Linked DNA regions of Homo sapiens: all the other regions are linked to region 3. The links are contacts of gene promoters, found by promoter capture Hi-C in blood cells and fetal thymus (Javierre and others, 2016). All regions are on one chromosome and are shown on one strand. The core of a region is centred on a gene start or on the middle of the fragment in contact, and the rest is flanking DNA. Distances in the headings are between cores, read along the strand shown. Region 1 holds the start of HCRTR1 (hypocretin receptor 1). Region 2 overlaps BSDC1 (BSD domain containing 1). Region 3 holds the start of KHDRBS1 (KH RNA binding domain containing, signal transduction associated 1).

Region 1 (2,939 bases), core at 440-2,939, 400 kb before region 3:
ACTGGATTCCCTAGACACACACCACAGCCCTTACTTGAATTCAAGACTCAAACACAAACACACACTCATGCACACATATGCAGACATGCACACACCCACACATTCACACATGCACACACGCACACACACACACACACACACAGCAGCCCCTCTTCTGAGTCCCTTCACTCATTCTCCTACCTCGGCCAGCACCTAGGGAAGACAAGACATCACACACCATGCAGATGCCATACCTGCCCAAGGACAAAGTTCTGCCTTGGGTTTAGCTTCAGTCCATCCTCCTGTTCTGCAGAGGTTAAGGTCACTGGCCCCCTCCCTTATGCTGCTCCAGTTCCTCTCCCACACCTCCTATGCCTAACGGCGCATCTTCAGAGCCTTTGAAAAGGGCTTTGGCTGCAATGGGAAAGATGGTGGTTGCATCCCAGGAGTCACCTCCCAGGAGGGAAACAGTGTGAGTTTCAGAGGGTGACATGTTAGGAATGTCCTATGCTGAGCTAGGGGATGGCCAAGGTGACTGCATGATGCTCAGGCAGTCACCCTTCACCTACCTGTGATTTCCAGAATCCCCAACCTTCAAACCTTTGCACCTGCTGTTTCCTGACCTTGAATGCCTCTCCTCGAATACCACAATCCCCCTTGCAGGCTACCTTCTTATTCTTCAGGTCTCCATGGAGATGTCCCTGCTCCAGGAAGCCTGTTCTCATGCCCTGGCTGAGTCGGTCTGTCCTCCTGTGCCCCACAGCCCCCAGGGCCCTCACACCCTCCTCACACCACAGGTTAATTGCCTGGGTGTGCACCTGCCTCCCCCACCAGCCAGAGAGATTTTGCAGGGGAGGGAGACTGTGTCTGGTGAGAGAGGCTAGAGGCCTGAGAGGGGCAGAGGCTCAAAGCCCAGCTCTGCCTCTGCTGTGCGACCTTGGGCAAGTCATTGCGCCATGTGGATCCAGTGTCCTTATCTGTAAAATGGGGACAATAACGACCACCTCACCAGGTTGATATGAAGATTAAATGAGAGCAGGCATCATATGCATTATCCAAACGGTAGCTGTATTATTAGAACTCACTGCCTAGCACACAGCTTAATAAATCGTTATTTGTGGAATTAACGAACCCCCACTTCTGTCCCCACCGGCGTCCTTGATTTTTGGGGGGAACAGTAGGTATAACAAAAAGAGAAACTGGGGGCAGATAGGATGGGGGGCTGGGAGATGGGAGAACAGGCTTCTCTGGCATCGTTGGGAGCTAGCTGTTACAGCAGCATCCGGAGCTAGGCTGGAGGCGGTGCAGGCATCCTCTCTGTCTCACCCCTGTGACCCACCTGTGCCATCCTCCTCCTCAGTTAGGTGAGGCAGCAAGGAGAGGCGGGGCTGGGCTCCACCTCTGCACTGTGGCCCTCTGAAGCTGCCAGGCCCGCCGGCACACACTAAGTGCGCCCAGAATGCGGGGTGGCCAGGGGCATAAATGTTGAATGAATGAGGATGGAATGAATGAACGGATGGACGCATGAATGGAGGTGGGATGGAAGCTTGAAGTGGGAGGCTAGAAGGAACGAGCGTCTCCCTCCGCCCTGCGGGTCTCGGGGCTGGAAGACAGGGAGCCAAGACCGTCTGGGGGCTCCCACCCCGCCCTGCCCCTCCCGCCGGCCCTCCCTCCCCGCAGCGCGCAGCCCGGCGGAGCCCGCGCCGAGCCACAGCCCGCGCAGTTGCCGCGGATCGTGCTGAGCCCCGCGAGCCGAGGCAGCGCAGCCTAGGGAGGGGGCTGCCCCGGCCCCCTCCTGCAGTCCCGGCCCCTAGAGGCTCGGCCTTCCTCGCAGGAAGGCGAAGTCCCCGGTGCCAGGTCCGGGGACCAGCAGCCGAGAACGCCCGGGTCCCGGAGCCAACAGGTGCGGGGTGTGGGGGACCCCCAGGCCTGGGATGGGGGTTCCAAAGGACCCGCGGCGAGGGATGGGAGGAGCCAAGAGTCTCGGGGGGTAACCTGGGTGCTGGGAGACTGGCTCCTCGGCCAGCGCTGCTCTCCTCTAGGCAGGCTCCGAGTGCCCTCGCTCCCCCGCGCCTTCCCGGAGCCCCGCCAGCCCCCGAGGTGCAGGAAGGTCCCGCGGACGGAGCGGGCCTGCCGGCGTTCAGTGGGGTATGAAGGCGTCCCCTCCCCTTCCCCAGGGGTCTCCAGGGATCCGCAACCCTCCGGCACCTGGCCGGGGTCGTCCTAGCCCAGCCGGGGGAAGGAGGGGCTGAGTGCGGGAGGAGGGGAGGGGCGGGGAGCTGGGCTGGCTGGATTTATGAATGGAGAGCGACCCGCGCGCCGGAACAGCGGCTCCTGGCGGCCGTCGGGGAGCGTCGCGGCCCTGGGGACCCAAAGGGGCCTCTTAGGGGGCCTGGATGCTCCCCTTGCTCGCAAGGGGTCGTCAGTCCCTCCGCGCACCACCCCCACTGTGTGTGTGTTGTATGTGTGCGTGTCCGCGAGTGCCCACCGGAGGGTCTGGCAGGTATGGCGGGTGGGGCTTGGGTCTCTAACACCTCCCTTGGCCCGTTTTCCCAACCCAAAGTTAAAGCCTCTGAACTGGCTCAAGAAATATTTGCAATCGGGATGGCTTCTCCTCCCAAATCTACGGTGTTTGGTGGGTTCGAACAGACCTGGCTTAAGAGCTTTGTGACCTTGAGCAAGAGACTCAATCTCTCTGAGCTTCGGTCTCATCTGCAAAGCAGGGTACCCTAATAATGGTAACCGGAAACGTCCCCGAAACTACCTTCTCGTACCAGGTTCTTGGTGAAGCACTTGGCACGCATCGGAGCTCATTACTCCTCATCGTGGTCCTGTAAGGTATGTAGGGCTGTCACCCCATTAGACAGATGGGGAAACCAAGGCTGAAAGAGGCCAGGTAAGCTACCCAAGGCAACTGGTGTGGAATTGGGATGCAACCCAGGTCTGTCTTCCTCCACCAA
Region 2 (2,915 bases), core at 134-2,633, 360 kb after region 3:
CCTTAACATCAATGTCACTGGGATTCCCAAGCCAGGGTAAGGTTAAATTGTCCAAAAAGATAGAAATTGGCACAGTGTGCTAGTTAAGGGCATGGGCTTGGAGTCAGACAGCCCTGGGTCTGAATCTGGGCCTCCTGGCCATGTGAACTTGGGCAAGTTACCTAATATTTTTGGGCCTCACTTTTTTTCATTTGTAAAATGAGGACAATAATACTGAGAAATTAGGTGCCATATAACATATTTAGCATGGGATCTGGCATCAAACTTGTTTTGTTGACTCTTAAGATGCCAACAATTGAAGATGCATTCTTATTTCAGAGATGTTGTGCAACTTAGAATGAAATATGTTAGCAAATAGTCAATATATAGCAGCTGTCATCATTATCAGAAACGAAAAAAAATCTGCTCATAGTATCCTAACAAGGGACAAGGAGACAAATCTGCCTCAGGAGGTGGCCCTGACCGCACACAACCCTCTGGGCTTGGACCTCCAGACCTACCTTTCTTTCCATTGTTGGAGGGTGTAGACTTCCCACTATCCGAGTTCAGCTCAAACACCCGTAAGTCTGTGGGCGCCTCCTCCCTCAGAGTCTCTACTCTGGCTGGAGGCCTGGGCTCTGGGCCGCCGGTGTGGCCAGCAGGCGTTAGGGGCTTGGAGTGAATAGGGGGTGAGGGTCCAGTCTCACCCACATCCACAGCCAGGCCCTGTTCCTCCAAGGATGCCTCTAGCAGCTTTTGGGACAGGTCCTTGGGTAGCACTCGTGCCTCAGGTGCAGTGGCCGGGTTGGCGATCTGTGTCACGAGGGAGATGCTCTCACTGCTCTCTGATGGAGTCACCTCTGCTGGGGGCTCAACTGAAGTCACCAGATTCTCTTCACAGGGGCTCTGGGGGCCAGGTTCTCCTTCAGGGAATGTAGAAATTTTGGCCACAGGAACCTTTGCCTCTTTTGGAGATATGGGTGAAATGCCCATGAGCTCCTCTGTAGAGAGAGAAAGGGAGGGGCAAGAGGGAAATGTAACCTGGCCAGCCATAAGACAACCTTGGAGCTCTCAAGTTCCTGCCAAAGTGTACTCTGATCAAGACTCAAGCCGGGCATGGTGGCTCACACCTGTAATCCCACCACTTTGGGAGGATGAGGCGGGTGGATCACCTGAGGTCAGGAGTTTTTGAGACCAGCCTGGCCAACACGGTGAAACCCCATCTCTACTAAAAATACAAAAAATATTAGCTGGGTGTGGTGGCACGTGCCTGTAATCCCAGCTACTTGGGAGGCTGAGGCAGGAGAATCGCTTGAACCCGGGAGGCGGTGGTTGCAGTGGGCGGAGATTGCGCCACTGCACTCCAGCCTGGATGACAGAGTGAGACTCTGCCTCAAAACGAAAAAAAAAAGACTCAATAGTGTCATTCAGCTCACCCCTTCGCCATCACAACGCTTCTGCAGACAGTCCCTGCTAGTCAAAGTCCTGTTTAGCCCTGGGGCCTAATGCCTGGTGGGCTTCCAGCAATGCAGTCCAAGGGGCTGTTATGGATTAGAAAGCCAAGGCTCAGAAGTGAGTCAGTTTTGGGTTCAGGTTGGACTCTGCTACATCCTAGGTGTATGATTGGGCAAGCCACCTAACTTTTAACTTACTCTTAACTTACTTTTATCCTTAAGAGGGGTAATGGGGTTGTGGTAAGGACTCTGTGTAGAGCTCTTAGGGCAGCCTGGACATATGGTGTAAACAAGAAATGCGTTAATATTATATCATCCAGAAGGCTTCAACATGCTGTTCTAAGCTGAGCTACAGGTAGAAGATGCTCAGCTCCCTCCCTAACTCAGTGGTTCCCAAACCAGCCTGGGCATTAATATTACCAGGGAACTTGTTTAAAATACATGTCTGGCCGCATCTTTACAGTCTTCTTTAGAAGGTGGGGAAAGGAATCTGGATTTTCAAGAAGCTCCCCAGTGACTAAGCGGCAGCTGGTTCATGGGCTGGCAGGGGAATCTACACCAACTGACACATGTGATTTCTGTAGCTAAATCGGAATTCCACTAGCCTTGTTCAATATCCCCTTGTTAGCTCCGCCTATCCTCACACATACAATGTGCTTGTTCCCTACTCTTCCCTGATGGGCACCAAGTCTCTCCAGGCTTCAGAGAGCATGGCCCAGCCCAGAGCGTCCCGCACAGATGTGACACTTGCCCCTCACCTCTCAACGCCTCTTACCTTCCTCCTCCTCCCAGCCGGGCTCTTCAGAGATGCTCTGTTCCGCCCGCTGCTTCAGGGCGTCCCTCCGGGCCTGCTCCTGAATGTGGGGGAGCAGAAGGCCACAGGCAGTCAGGGCACCCTCTTCCTAGACCCTGGTCCTGATCCCACAACTCTTGGCACCCTGTATCCCTTTCTTCTCTCAATAAATCCAGCCTGCTTCCCCCAGGGTTGAGTGGGGACCTCCCCATGCTAGACCAGCATACCTGCTCTAACTGATGGACTTTATAGAAATACCGATGCCAGAATTCTGAATGGGAAACAGCTGCTGGAACCTGGAGGGAGGGGAAAATGGAGGTGAGACTTTGGGAGTGTTTGTGTGGGGTCTGTGTCCCCAGCCTTATCAGTCTATTCCCAGCCAGTCTGGATTTCAGACCCAGTAAGTGGCTTAGCAGTGACAGTCAGAGCACTTCCACCCCCACCAAAGTTTCAGCCAGACCCACCTTCCTAGTCCGGGTTGGCCAAGGAGTGAGAAAAGAACTCCCATCAGGCTTTGCTGGCCCTTCCATTTCTCACCATTCTCTGATTGCCAGAAGCCTGGCAAACCAGCTTCTCCCATGTGGGGTCTTGGCTCAGGACACAGCTGGTCTGGCTCTATGGAGCCTCCCAGTGCTCTCCGGGCCAGATGACTCTGCAGTGACTCTGAACATGTCCCTCCCACCTCCCAA
Region 3 (2,911 bases), core at 407-2,906:
TGAGACGTAGTCTCGCTCTGTTGCCCAGGCTGGAGTGCAGTGGCGTGATCTCGGCTCACGGCAGCCTCCGCGTCCCTGGTTCAAGCAATTCTCCTGCCTCAGCCTCCCAAGTAGCTGGGATTACAGGTATGCACCACCACACCCGGCTAATTTTTATATTTTTAGTAAAGATGGGGTTTCATCATGTTGGCCAAGTTGGTCTCGAACTCCTGGCCTCAGGTGATTTGCCCACCTCGGCCTCCCAAAGTGTTGGGATCACAGGCATGAGCCACCAAGCCGGGCGGAAACTTTTTTTATTGTAGAGATGAGGTCTCATTATATTGTCCAGGCTGCTCTCGAACTCCTAGCCTCAAGTAATCCTCCCACCTAGGCCTCCCAAAGTGCTGGGATTACAGGCATAAGCCACCGCACCGGTCCCCAAAGACTTTTGAAAAGTGTGGGCTCATTAGGAGAACTAATCCAGAAGGAAAAGAGATGGGAGTGAGTGCTTTAAATGGAAGAAGAAAATAATCTGCGGAGGGAAGGGAAAGTTAGAGAGGGCACCAGGCTTTTGATGGCTTATGGGACAAGTAGGGACCTAAGGCTCCACTTGCATATAGCACACCAGGATGTGGAGAACGTCGTAGGCGACTGTCCACTATGTACCTTGCCTTTGAGAGTAGTGGCAAGGGTCTCTTTGAGCAAGTCTGGAGTGGTAGAAGAAGCCATCCTAATGATGCAACCAACGTGGATTAAGGATCTGGTCTCTACCTCACTTTTTGAAGGAAGAAACACTTAATTGGCAATAATGACGGCGAAACAAAACAAACACAATTCAGAAAAAGCAGTAAAATATGTAAAAAGAGCTAAAATGCTGCTTAAGATTTCCCGTACCAACAATGTCAACCGTTTTAGAACCGACTGGAATATATGTAATACTGGAAATATATATACTGGAAACAACTTCTTGTGTTCCCTGATGTCTGGGACCCTTTTCTTTGCTAGACTTCAGATCTCTGATCTGAACCATCCCTCTTAGTTCAAGTACTCCAATCGCCTTCAGTGTTTCCACCAAGCCGTCCTTCCTCAATTTCTCCCTCCAGGTTTCCCTTCCCCAACTTTCCCCCTGCATCAGACTCTCCCTCAGCCTTCCTTTCTCCCTGTGCAGTCTGTCTCACTCCTGTCTTCCTCCCCAGGCGGTCTCAATTCTCTCTCCCTCCCCTTTCCGTGACCCTCTCGGCAGTCTTTTACTTCCTTACTTCGGTGACCGCCCCCCACCCCACTCCCCACAGCCTCCCTCCACTGCTCAGCCGTTGGAGAGGGCGTGGCCCCGCGAGTAACAGGTCTCCCGCCCCACACTCCGCGGGCCCGCGCGCAGACAAAGACATTCCACAGCTCCCGCCCCCTCCACGCCAGAAAGGGGAGGAGACACGTGTTCCGCTAGCGCCGAGTCACGTGGAAAACGAAACGAACGGAGCCCACTGCCTCCCGCGCATGCGCATCAAGCTCTGGCCTGGCGGGAGCGGAGGGAAAGCCAGAGTCGGGAGGCGACTTCTCGGACGCCGCGGCGGTGCGCAGGCGCCGTGGCCGGACTGGGGACTTTGTTCTCCGCGGAGAAACCCAAGGGCGGTGCCGGTGGCTGGCTGCGCACGCGCGCCGCCTCATTTCCGGTGCTCTCTCTCGCTGGGTCGCTCGGGTCGGCTTCGGTCGCTACCGCTCCCGCTCTGCCACCCCCGCCAACCGCCGCTCGGGCCTCCGTCGCTGCCGCGTCGCTTTCTCGCTCCTTGGATCGCACATCCTCCCAGATGCAGCGCCGGGACGACCCCGCCGCGCGCATGAGCCGGTCTTCGGGCCGTAGCGGCTCCATGGACCCCTCCGGTGCCCACCCCTCGGTGCGTCAGACGCCGTCTCGGCAGCCGCCGCTGCCTCACCGGTCCCGGGGAGGCGGAGGGGGATCCCGCGGGGGCGCCCGGGCCTCGCCCGCCACGCAGCCGCCACCGCTGCTGCCGCCCTCGGCCACGGGTCCCGACGCGACAGTGGGCGGGCCAGCGCCGACCCCGCTGCTGCCCCCCTCGGCCACAGCCTCGGTCAAGATGGAGCCAGAGAACAAGTACCTGCCCGAACTCATGGCCGAGAAGGACTCGCTCGACCCGTCCTTCACTCACGCCATGCAGCTGCTGACGGCAGGTAAGGGGGCCTCCCGTGTCCCTCTGGGTCGCCCGGCCATCCCGGGCATGAGTGGCCCTGGCTTTGTTCCTCTCGCTTCCCGCCCCCTCGGGACCGAGGCAGTCGGGAGTTCCGGTCTCATCCTCATTTTTGGGAGCCTGGATTCCACATTCCCACCTCAGCCCGGAGTGCGTGGGAGAATTTCTAGGCTGCAGTGGAGGCCCGAAGGCGACTTTGCGATCCCCTAGCGCTAATGTCTTGATGGATAGTGCTGAGCTCCCCGCCCCTTTCCCGACTCTTCCCTCCTCCCTCCTCTTGCGGCTGCCGGGCGCGCAGATTCTTCCAGAAATGAACCTTCATTTCCCCCTTTCCCTGAAGGGAAACCCTTTTTGATCGCGGGTGGCGATGAGCGCCTCGACCGAGGTGTAGGAGGTGAAGACAGCCAGAGCGGGGAGGGACCGTGGGAGGAAGGGCCGAGGTGAGGTGGGGTGAGGCTGGAATGCCCTGTCCAGTGCCTTGCTGTCGCTGGGGCCGAGCCGGACTTAGCGGTAACCGCAGCTTAAGTTGCTGGGAGGAAGGAGCGATTTATGTGGATCGGAGCTTGAGGTTTCCGAATCAGATTTCCGACTAAGGCTGATAAAATAAGAATTGCTACTGAGCCATTTTACACCGTGTGTTCACTGTCGTTGAAGGAGTGAAGTAACCCTAGAGACAGTGAAATGGGACGATAGGGACTCCCGCGTAGTTCACATGACGTTTCCCAACG

Evidence for each region. Contacts are between HindIII fragments. The CHiCAGO score rates a contact against its expected background, and 5 or more counts as called.
Region 1: a contact is called between the fragment with the promoter of HCRTR1 here and the fragment with the promoter of KHDRBS1 in region 3, in 2 of 17 cell types (total CD4 T cells and total B cells). The highest score is 5.8, in total CD4 T cells.
Region 2: a contact is called between a fragment that was not itself captured here and the fragment with the promoter of KHDRBS1 in region 3, in 2 of 17 cell types (naive CD4 T cells and non-activated CD4 T cells). The highest score is 5.7, in naive CD4 T cells.

What each region holds. Positions count from the first base shown.
Region 1 is chr1:31,616,000-31,618,938 of GRCh38, forward strand. It overlaps HCRTR1 (hypocretin receptor 1), which reads left to right and starts at 1,690. Exons shown (of 9, transcript NM_001525.3): 1 at 1,690-1,882; 2 at 2,757-2,817. RefSeq lists an enhancer at 1,606-2,295. The HindIII fragment of the contact is 12,367 bases long and covers 1,524-2,939 here.
Region 2 is chr1:32,375,762-32,378,676 of GRCh38, forward strand. It overlaps BSDC1 (BSD domain containing 1), which reads right to left. Exons shown (of 11, transcript NM_018045.8): 7 at 2,454-2,522; 8 at 2,209-2,287; 9 at 501-980. Among named protein-coding and RNA genes, the nearest start is that of TSSK3, 15 kb to the left of the region's middle. The HindIII fragment of the contact is 3,585 bases long and covers 1-2,915 here.
Region 3 is chr1:32,012,212-32,015,122 of GRCh38, forward strand. It overlaps KHDRBS1 (KH RNA binding domain containing, signal transduction associated 1), which reads left to right and starts at 1,657. Exons shown (of 9, transcript NM_006559.3): 1 at 1,657-2,166. The coding sequence starts at 1,785. RefSeq lists silencers at 1,866-2,075, 2,556-2,665 and an enhancer at 1,892-2,462. The HindIII fragment of the contact is 9,365 bases long and covers 1-2,911 here.